Linked DNA regions of Homo sapiens: all the other regions are linked to region 2. The links are contacts of gene promoters, found by promoter capture Hi-C in human tissues and cell types (Jung and others, 2019). All regions are on one chromosome and are shown on one strand. Each heading gives the region's core, a stretch centred on a gene start or on the middle of the fragment in contact. The rest is flanking DNA. Distances are from core to core; before and after follow the strand shown. Region 1 has its middle 1.9 kb from the start of LINC02461. Region 2 holds the start of PRICKLE1 (prickle planar cell polarity protein 1). Region 3 has its middle 150 kb from the start of LINC02461. Region 4 has its middle 52 kb from the start of LINC02461.

The links. Contacts are between HindIII fragments. The study calls those that stand out against the background at their distance.
Region 1: a fragment that was not itself captured here is called in contact with the fragment with the promoter of PRICKLE1 in region 2 in 2 of the 25 tissues and cell types used here (dorsolateral prefrontal cortex and lymphoblastoid cells).
Region 3: a contact is called between a fragment that was not itself captured here and the fragment with the promoter of PRICKLE1 in region 2, in 2 of the 25 tissues and cell types used here (dorsolateral prefrontal cortex and mesenchymal stem cells).
Region 4: a fragment that was not itself captured here is called in contact with the fragment with the promoter of PRICKLE1 in region 2 in 2 of the 25 tissues and cell types used here (lymphoblastoid cells and mesenchymal stem cells).

Annotation. Positions count from the first base shown.
Region 1 is chr12:43,152,067-43,154,766 of GRCh38, forward strand. No RefSeq gene overlaps it. Among named protein-coding and RNA genes, the nearest start is that of LINC02461, 1.9 kb to the right of the region's middle. The HindIII fragment of the contact is 3,731 bases long and covers 1-2,700 here.
Region 2 is chr12:42,588,372-42,591,071 of GRCh38, forward strand. PRICKLE1 (prickle planar cell polarity protein 1) reads right to left here and starts at 1,375. Exons shown (of 8, transcript NM_153026.3): 1 at 1,094-1,375. RefSeq lists a silencer at 1,379-1,628 and an enhancer at 2,098-2,655. The HindIII fragment of the contact is 9,160 bases long and covers 1-2,700 here.
Region 3 is chr12:43,299,833-43,302,532 of GRCh38, forward strand. No RefSeq gene overlaps it. Among named protein-coding and RNA genes, the nearest start is that of LINC02461, 150 kb to the left of the region's middle. The HindIII fragment of the contact is 3,606 bases long and covers 1-2,700 here.
Region 4 is chr12:43,102,374-43,105,085 of GRCh38, forward strand. No RefSeq gene overlaps it. Among named protein-coding and RNA genes, the nearest start is that of LINC02461, 52 kb to the right of the region's middle. The HindIII fragment of the contact is 3,057 bases long and covers 1-2,712 here.

The DNA of each region.
Region 1 (2,700 bases), core at 182-2,681, 560 kb after region 2:
TGTTATTTTGTTGACTGCACTATTGCATTCTTCTTGTAGAACTGCATACTTGAAGGGGTGGGGTCTGCTTTGCGTTTCATCTAAAATGGCTTTTATAGCCCTTAGAAAGCTGGAAATCTGCTTCATGTTTAACATCTCTTTCCACAACAATTTAGGTTCATCTTTTTGTTACTTCAGTCACTGGAAAACTTCAATGTTCAGCTGTTGTTTTTTTCAAACCTCAAAGCAATGAAGACCCTCAGTATCTTTTTATATTGAAACATGTTCTAATACAATCTTCTACTGTTGATCTATTACTTTAATATTCAGTCTTTTTTTTTTTTTTTTTGAGGCAGGGTCTCATTCTGTCGCCCAGGCTGGAATGCACTGGCATGACCATAGCTCACTGCAGCCTCCATCTCCCGGGCTCAGGCAATCCTCCTACCTCAGCCTCCCAAGTAGCTGGGACTATGGGGCTGCCCCACCACACCTGGCTAATTTTTAAATTTTGAATTTTAAATTTCTTTTTTTTTTTTTTTTTTTTTTTGAGATGGAGTTTTGCTCTTTTGCCCAGGCTGGAGTGAAGTGGCATGATCTCAGCTCATTGCAACCTCCGCCTCCCAGGTTCAAGCAATTCTCCTGCCTCAGCCTCCTGAGTAGCTAGGATTACATGCACCCACCACCACGCCTGGCCAATTTTTTTGTATTTTTAATAAAGAAAGGGTTTTGCCATTTTGGCCAGGCTGGTCTTGAACTCCTGACCTCAGGTGACCCACCCGCCTCGGCCTCCCAAAGTGCTAGGATTATAAGCATGAGCCACCACGCCCAGCCTAAATTTCTATTTTTTAGACATGAGGGTCTCATTATGTTGCCCAGGCCGGTCTTGAGCTCCTGGACTCAAGTGATCCTCCCACCTTGGCCTCCCAAAGTGCTGTGATTATGGGCCTGAGCCACCAAGTCCTGCATTATATTCAGTCTTAATGTCCCTAGCACCACAACTGAAAGTCCTGCTAGAGTCTTTGATTCTAGTTTTAACCTTATTTCCTAATAAGTAATAAATTATACTTTATTCGACATCTAGCTTCTGCTTTGGTGAGTTGGAAATGTCCCACCTTGTGGGAAACGTGTCTAAGCATTTCTCTTCCCGATTTTGTACTTAGCAAGGGAGAAACTTCTTGATGTCAGGCTGTAGTTTCTGTCTCCCTTCGTCCTCCTCCATCTCCCCACCTAGAGTTAACACAAGATGGGAACAAAAGAAAAACAGTGAATGCCAAAGAAAGACCAGAAGTAAGTACATGAGACAAAAATCCAAGGCAGGAAAAACACTGAAATAATAATAGCACGAAACAATGGAGAATTAAAGAAGAATGGCAAATATGACTGAGTCCTCTAAACAGTTGGCTATAGCTCCACAATGGAAAGTCCTGCTAGGGTCTTTGATTCTGTCCCCTAAACCATCCCAGATAGTTATGTAGCATGTGGCCTCAAAGGAGGGAGATTTTCATCCTTGTCCTAAGGAACATGTTTCTGGGCTTCCCTTATCTCCCTAATCTAATCTTACCTCAAAGCCTGCTGCCACCATTCAGTTATTCTTTTTACCCCTACTCGATATACAAAATAATTATTATTTGTGATATAAAAGTTCTTTTAAGCCCAAGACAGTGACTAAGTTACATCTCAAATATTTTCTAATCAAGATATTCTTATTTTCAAGTACAATATTCCTAGGCCTCTGGTCTGGGTCTCTGTACAGACAACATAGCCGTCACTATGTAGCAAATAATAAAATTAATGTGACTTGCAATATTAATCAACTATTAGACAAAAGTTCATGAGGCGTTGTGCCATTTTTCATGTTAGCAATAGCTTTTAGCATTTTGTTTCTTTATTCCTAAAATATGGAAAAATTCTTTGTCATAGTTGCATTTCAAAATGACCCAAATACTCCTGCCAAAATAAACAACCCTAGGTTTATTTTCATTATAAGTTTCCCTCTCTTTACTGCCCATTGGCTTCATTTTTTAACCTTGTTTTGCCTTTTTTCCCCTCTGAAAACCGAAAATTTAAATTTTCTGGTTTTAAATTTTTTTATGTCTTATTGGAGTTTTAGCTGACTGTAGTCTTTTTCATGTCAGTATTATTCAAGTTTCGGAAAAGTCTCTTTACCATCTATTAACAACTAAATAATTATAAATTGTTGGCCAAAAAAAAGAGAAAGAAGAAAAGAAAAAGAAAGAAAGGAAGAAAGAAAGAAAGAGAAGGAAGGAAGGAAAGAAAGAAAGAAAGAAAGGAAAGAAAGGAAGAGTAGTGGGGGAAAAGAATAAAATTTGCCTGCACCTTTTTGTTGTTTTTTTTTTTCTCTTCTCTTTTTATTTTTTAATTTTGCCTACACCTTTTAAAGCAAAACAATTACATTTTTTCTTTTAGTTTTATAAACTAATGAAATTAATCTGTTCCAACTCAATCAGTTGTTTCATACTGGAAAATGTCACACATCGGGGCTTTTAGGAAGGAATCATTGCCGTGCCTTGGTGAAGGGTGAGTATGGCTTTAACAACTGCTGGTGGAGGAGCCTTGGAGGAAAGAACAGGATAGTAAATGCAATTGCTTGTCTCCTGAGAGTTAACTCACAGTCCAGATGTCCTACCACCTATCTACCTGTAGTCTGAAGGCACTTTGTGAGTAATAAAAGCATGTAAATTGTAAATTCTTCTCCTTTTC
Region 2 (2,700 bases), core at 125-2,624:
AAGATACCATTTCAGTGATTTGTCATTCATAAAACTTATCCTAAAAGACACATATACATGCATCCATTTGATAGCACAAATGCATGTTAACTCTGCAGGAGAGGCAGATTTTTACATGTTTTTTTGGTTGTAGTTGTTGGTGCTTTTTTTTTTTCCTTTAGGCTGGTTCCCGTGGTGTGTTTGCCTTGTTCATGGTCTCAGTTCTGCCGCTGATACCCTTTTAAAAATCAGCAACCAAACGCGTTCGGCTTGTGATCCTGAACCCTCCTTAGGCAAGCTGGAACTAAGCGTGATGCAGCCGTCCTCCCTCTCTCCCAACCCCCAACCTCGTTCTTCAGCCTCCTGAAGACAATCTGTGAACAATTTTCCCAAAGTCCCAAGAATAACACAGCACTGCCAATAGTCACTGGCGATGCCGTTTGTTTTTCTTAGAGGGTAATGAAAATTTAACAGCTTTCTGCTGCATCCTGAGTCCCGCTCCTAATAACTATTAACATGCCTAGTTTCTTCAACTTTTTCTACCTCAAGAGAGGAAGACGCTCCCATTTTTTCCCTATATCTGTGCTACATTCAGCAAACACCATCGCGGGGCAGGGGGTTGGGGAGAGTGGTGGGAGTTGATTCGCCTCTGCCAAAAAGCCACCAGCCCCTTTCCCCAGCGCTAGAGGAGAGAATCGGTACCCTCCCTCCGGACGCCAGTAGGTGACAGGCGATCCTAAGCGGCGGGAACACGCCAACGCACCCTCGCCTCCCGGCGCCCCGCATCGCCTCGACCCTCGGGCTACAGAACCTGTTTCCACGCCGGAGAAAACCAAGGGAAGAGTTGGTTGTGATGCAGCAAACAGGAGCCATGCGGAGAGCCTCTGCGGAGCCCTGGCGATGCTGCAGCCAATATCTGCTTTCCCTGTCTACACAGCCCAACAAACCGATTATGACCTTCTCCCTGATCTTCTGCGACACCGACCCAGTCTGGGTGTCACAGACTCCGGCGGTGCCAGCGAAGGTGCCCGGCCCTACCCCTGCGGCGCTCGCCCCCCACCACCGCGCCGCAGCCCCCTCTGCGGAATCCGCCGGGATCCAGGCTGCCACTCACCTCGCGCGAGGGAGACGCAACTCGGCTGCACTGTCCTCGGCGCCGCTGCGGGGCTGCTGGGCTGCGGGGCTGCGGGGCTGAGGAGCTGCGGTCCGCGGCGTCAGGGGTGGGCGAGGGTGAGCAGCGCACGAACCATCCAGAGCCCAGAAAGTCTCCGTGCCGACCGCGGCGCGTCTCGGGGAAGTCAGCGCAGGCTGCGCGAGGCTGGCATGTTCCGGGCGCGCTGTCGGGCGGCGGCGGCCGCGGGAGACGGCGCTGGCAGCTGGGCTGCAGGCGGAGTGCGCTCGGGCTCCGGAGCCGCGCGCTGCGGCGCCGCCGCGCACCCCGCCCTCGGCCGCGGGGCCCGGCGCGAGCGAAAACGCGGAGCGCGGACGCCGCCGCGGGATCGAGGCCGCTGGGCGCGCGCCCACGCGTACCCCGGCTCGGCCCTGAAAGCGAGGTCGGGCCCGGCTCGGGCCGCGCCCGGGGGCAGGGCTGCGAGCAGGCCTGGGACCGGCTCCACGCGCAGCCAGTGGGGCAGAGCAGCAGGCGGATTATGCGCAGGGAGAAAAAAGTTCACCAACCGCGGTCCAGAGTCGCAAGTGCGGCTCGCTCGGAGCCTCTGCCCCGCCCCCGATTATAAGCCTTTTTTTTTTTTTTTTTTTAACCAACAATCCCGATGGACTGAAACACAGGAAGAGTGAAGGGACGGGGTGGGGGGTGGGGGAGAGACAAACCCAATTTCCTCTGATCAAACGATTTGGGTAGGGGTGCCTATTTGAGTTCCTTCTCCTTCGGGGGGTGTGTGAAGGGGGCAGTTAATTAAACACTTAGATTCCTTCCGGCGCGCCTTGCCGAGCTGGGGACCCGTTTGGACTCGATCCTGTCTCGTGTAATCCCACAGGCTGGTCTGAGTCTCTGCCCCGGAACCGGAGGAGTGATCTTTCAGAGCAAGAAGCCAAAGTTCAGCCTCTAGTCCGTTCCCTTCCCCGCCTCGACGGCCCTGGTCGTCTCCATGAAAACTCAGTGTGGGGGATCGTGCCCGCGAAAACCTCAGCCCACCGCAATGTCCAGAGCCTGACCCAAGTGAACGTGGCGCACTTAAAAGCGGGTTCAAAGCATTGATCCGAACACGGTGACAATTTTTCACTGGCCAAACTACTCTCCACATTTTCAGTCTGCTCAATTCCCAGAGCTGGGCTCTCAGGCGCACTCACCCACGTTGAACTGGGGCTCAGCCTGTTTGAAAGTTCTGCCCTGACATTTGTGTCACACTAAACCTTAGAACCCCCCACCCTCTCCAGTTCCGGATCGGTGGAGTCTCACCGTGTGGGTACTATTTCCCTGGACTGCAGAGGGCAGACACAGGCGGCAGCTGTTAACCCGAACTTGACAGGTGCCTCTGCAAAGCCAGGGCTTCCTTGACCTCTCCATCCTCTCCACAACGCTCTAGGATACTGTATCATCTTCCAGGAAGATGAGGATGTGTGTGGGGGGAGTGTGGAGGGAGGTGTTGACTGATGCAATTTTTATCCTTTTAAGAAAAATCAAAACTGCCAGTCTCAGAATTTCTCAGAACATCAAGTCTTTTCGATTTTCGTTGGGAATAAAGCAAAGGAATACTCAGC
Region 3 (2,700 bases), core at 96-2,595, 710 kb after region 2:
GAGCTGAGATTGTACCACTGCACTACAGCCTGGGCAACAGAGTGAGGCCCTGTTTCAGAAGCAGAAGAAGAAAGAAAGAGAAAGTGAAGGGGAAGGAGGAGGAGGTGGGGGAGGGAGATGGAGAGAGAGAGGGAGAGGGAGAAAAAGGAGAGAGAGAAGAAAGAGAAGAAGAAGAAGGAGAAGGAGAAGGAGAAGAAGCTATGCTAAACATGAGACTCCAAATTAAGTTTCCAATTTTATCAGCCCCTGAAAATCTAATACTTACTATTAGGGCTGAGATATAATCATCTTAATTTAAAAAATCATTTTTTCTAGGATTGGAAGAAAAGGTCACAATGATATTTCTTTCTAGAACATTTATAAAGGTTTTCAACTAATGGATAAAATAAAATTCAGAGCAAAATAATTCAATTGCAATTTATCTTTTGGTTTGGATTGCCTCAAAAATGCATAAAACAACAATAGTTTAAAAAAAACCTTATGTGCAACTCAGAAAAAGATAATTCTCTTTGATAAAAAAAATTTTTGAATACTTTATTTAGGTTGCCTTTCAATCTACTCTCAGTTTAGAATTTGTTTGTATATCATCATTTAAGTAGGTCTTCTGAAAACTGTTAGAGATACAAATACTAATAATTTGTATCTTAATAATAAAAGCATATTGTTTATTCTATTATAGATTTTGAGGGTTCATAGAAAAGTATAAGTCTAAAACAAACTTCTAAATACGTTAGATGATTTTTAAGAGATATAACTTTCCTAGTTAGGTTTATTTTTTGACCTTTATTGATGCCACCATGAAATAATCCCCTGCAATAAGTTTGCCACTATGTTTTCTCACATTTACTGTGTTGGGAAACCATGAACCTGACAAATGGGAAACAGGTTTAACTATATCATCCTCTCCAGTGGTAAGAATTCCTTTCAGACTTGAGAAATGGCCTAACTGGCCAAAATCACATAACTAAGAATTTCTGAAGCTAGTTAGCTATTGTACCAAAGGTCACCTCAATCCGATGCTTGTGATATTAACCACTACACATGCAACCAAGTATCAGACTATCCAAAAGGTATTTTGTGGAAAAGGGAAGGACTTGAAGACTATCAAGCCTTGACATACTAATCCCTTGGAGGCAGGCACACATCAGTTTTGATGCTAAAATTCTTCAGGGCATAGTATGAAGTGCTCATTCTTTAGTTCTAATCTTGCAATCTTGATTGAAGGATAACCACTATGGACTTGTTTGAGAGTTAACAATTAGAAACCAACTGATATGGTTTGGCTGTATCCCCACCCAAATCTTGAATTGTAGCTCCCATAATTCCCACATGTCGTGGGAGGGACCTGGTGGGAGGTAACTGGATCATGAGGGCAGGTCTTTCCCATGCTTTCTTGTGATGGTGAATAAGTCTCATGAGATCTGATGGCTTTATAAAGGGGAGTTTCCCTGCACATGCTCTCTCTCTTGCCTGCCACCAGGTAAGATGTGACTTTGCTCCTCCTTTGCCTTCTCCCATGATTGTGAGGACTCCCAAGGCACATGGAATTGTGAGCCCATTAAACCTATTTTTCTTTATAAATTACCCAGTCTCTGGTATGTCTTTATTGGTAGTGTGAGAACAGACGAATACACCAGGATACGACCAATGTTAAGCTTAAACATTCTCAAGTGGGAAATTCAGAAGTCATTTAGGAAGACAATAAACTATATATTGGTAAGATTACAAACTCTGGAGTCAGGCAGCCTGGGATGAGTCCTGCCTCTGTTTTTATTTAACTCCTTCTTAAATTTCCTTCTCATTAAAAGACTGTTGTAAAAATTAAATTCAGTAATGTAAAGTGTTTAGTGCAGTGCCTAGCAAAAAATAATCTCCTCTCCAAATCTCCCATTTTTCAGCTGTTTGACATTGGGCAATTAACTTACTTCTATGTGCCTTAATTTTAATTATTATATAAAAACAGGAAAAATAATACAAATTTTGAGGAGTTGTTAACAGAATTAGAAAAACTCATGTAAAATTTCTGACATTTAGAATTAATTAATGGTAATTGTGATTAATATTAAGTAAATCTCAATTCTGTAACATATTATTAAATTAAACTAAATTTGGCTTAAGGTTGCCCTCTGTACCTTCAACCCCTTTCTAATGAACTACAACCTATGTTAGTAGGTAGACAAACTAAAAGCCTAATTTAGTAGTACAGTATATTTTTGGTAACTTCTTTATCTCAGCCAACGACAGCAGCTGAGTGTCAGCCAATCATAGGCTGGTAAGTGATCAGATCATGCCCCAATAAGGCAAATGCAGAACCGTAACCAATGAAGCTGATTCTGTACCTGCTTTGCGATTTCTGTCTATAAATGCAGCCTGCCTACATTGCTGAGTGGTGATCTCTGAACCTCTTCTGGTTCCTGTAAAAGTATTTTCAAATTTTCACATTTTAGAAGAGGCAAACACCCTTCTTCTGCGTTCTGAGCTAGGCAAGCAGAACCCTTAATTATTTGAAAACCAATTTTTATATTTCTGTATTCTGGATGTTCCTTTTGACCCTTTCAAATTCTTTTTCTTGTTTTTTGTCCCTTTGATCTTTGGTCAATAGTACAATGATTTGCATCTTTGTCCCAGTAAAGGAGGATTTCTTGAAGTCCCTCTTGTCTTCTGTTGGTTTTCCTTTTACTAAATACAATGCCATCTGTC
Region 4 (2,712 bases), core at 166-2,665, 510 kb after region 2:
TATTGCACTGTAGTTTTAATTTCTAGTTTCCTCATGACTAATGATTTTTGCAATTTTAAAAAAATTTCATGGCCATCTAAACAATTCTTTTTTTGCTCAAGTATTTTGCTTGTTTTCTTGATTAGGTTGTTGTTCTCCCTCCTCATTGATCTGAAAGAATTATTTGTACCAGTCTTCTATAGTTTGCGTGTTTATCTCCTCCAAATCTCATGTTGAAATTTGATCCACAATGTTGGAGGTGACAAATAGTGGGAAGTTTTTGAGTCACGGGAACAGATCCCTCATGAATGGATTAATGCCCTCTCTCAGAAGTGAGTTCTCCTTCTTTTAAGTTCCTGTGAGAGTTAGTTGTTAGAAAGAGCATGACGCTGCCCCCATCTCTCTTGCTTCCTGAAGCTCTTACCAGCAGCTTAGCAGATGCTGGTGCTATGCTTCCTGTAAAAACTGCAGAACCATGAGCCAAATAAACCACTTTTCTTTATAAATTACCCAGCCCCAGATATTATTCATTTATAGCAACACAAAATGGACTAAGACGGAGGTTTTGCTGGTATATGTATTAAAAAATATCTTCTCCCTTTCTGTGGCTTGTCTTTTCACTTTCCTAATGGTAAAACACTACTAATTTGCCATGTGGAATGACATTGGCATCCTCACCACATATGCATGTCAGTCACCACATCCTAAAAGTGTGTGGTGAGAAACCAGGAGCTGGATGGTGTGCTTAAATGTGATGCAATCATTTGAATTTTTGTTTTTGAGATATTGCTGTGCATTATAGTTTTATATATGCATGATTAAATGAACAGAATTATTTATTATCCAGATTTTACTAAACTAGTCTTCACAAAATGGGCAAGTGACTTCAAAATATTTTTGCAAAGTAAACCTAAATTTAAGATAATCTTAATAGAACAGGCACTTGGATACTGTAAGAAAATGGTTGCCCTGATAGCTCTTTTCCAAATAAGAGCTATTCCTCAGTTAAGTAAAGAAAACGACAGCCTAATATCTGACAAGTTAGTAAAAAAAAATTGTCAGAAAAGCCATTTAAATTCAAGATTTATGCCTACCTTAGTGAACAATGAACCTTGTCCTAACATATTTTTCTTGGATGTATTAGTTAAAGCATAAAGCCACCATGATTAGTACAATATTAAATATGTTTATTTCATCTTTATCTCATTCTTTAAAGTTTTCTAGTTTTTGTACATGAAACACATTAATTGACATCTATTGAAGCCATAACCAAAATAGTTTAACACACTTCTCTAGAAAATTTAAAACTATGCATGTACCGCTAAATAGAAGCATTACCATGCAACACAAACCTTCAGGCAACTTTTGAAATGGAAATTTACAAAGCACCTTTTCCACTTTAGTTAAGGCCTGGCTATTTGAAAAGCATCACAGTGCATCTCACAGTGCGTGTGCGGGAGTGGAGATGCCTGGAACAGAATTCCGATAGGACTGTAAGTGAGAGTTCATTGTTCTGAACTCTCCATTGTTCCATAAAACCTGTCTTAAATATTCTCATGTTCTTGGGTAAGGACTGATTTCTGAGAATGGAATATGCCTACTGAGAATGGTAGTTTTCACATTGCAATGTGGGATTTCTGGGTCCCTGGGAATATTTAACCATGTCTTTAACTATGGCAGCAAATCAACCAGTGGAAGCAGTTGCGCCAGGTGGCAGGTGGAGCATCTTGGGAAGAAGCCAGTTTTTCAAAAACCATGTTGCAAAGGCTTAATTAAGCTTAGGCAGTCAGATAAGCATTACTTTTCTATGAAACAGTCTAAATATAAATACAAAAATAAATAATGTAGACAGAAAAAGATAATGAATGTAATTTTTCTTTTGCTCATATTCTAGAGATTTTGTAAGATTTGATGGAACCAAGTGGGCAAAAGTATTGTTTGTGGGTATGTTACACGCATCTCCTTTCATCTGATGGAGGAAAATAGCCTCAAAAATCACCCAGTGCATGCTGTGGATTGTTGGCAGGCTTGAGAGAAGCCACCTTGGGTGGATGGGTCTTAAGGATCTCCAGGGGAGGAGTTTCCAGATTGTGTTAACAACCCCTTGCAGTCTTTGCTGGCTCAACACTGGGTGGACACTTTTCCTTCAGCTGAGCCTCACATCACTTACTTGGCATGATATGCCCTCCCCTCCCCAACGTCCCAAATGCTGTGACTACTTTGGAGGAAAATGGTGGAGAAATGCGAAGCATTATTTTCGGAACAAAATCTCTGCAGTCCCAAAGCTTTTGCAAAGCATTCTCTATAGGGGGCATATCTGCCACATCTGTTCTTGTGTGGGGGAGGCACACTGTATTTATCATTTGAGATGAGTCACCTCATAAAGGAGCATAGTTGACTTCAGCTTTTGTGTTGAAAGGGCTCTCTGGTAGAATGAGCTGTAGTATTTAAGCTTTAAGTGGTACATATCTAGGCCTCCTGGTAGCACCCTGCCAAGAGCAACAATAGCTACAGAGGAGTAAAATCTCCTTCTTTCCATTTCCTTTCTGTCTGACTCTAATGATACTACTGGTGCGGCACAGGCAGTGAGGATCCTCAAGGGTGCTGCCGTGAGAGACCAAGCCATCATCCCACACCTGTTCTGGAATGAAAGCAGCTGAATTTGGCAAGGCCAGGAGACACAAAAACAAAGGATAAAAAGAACCAGAAATGTTACAAAAAACACCAGTGAAA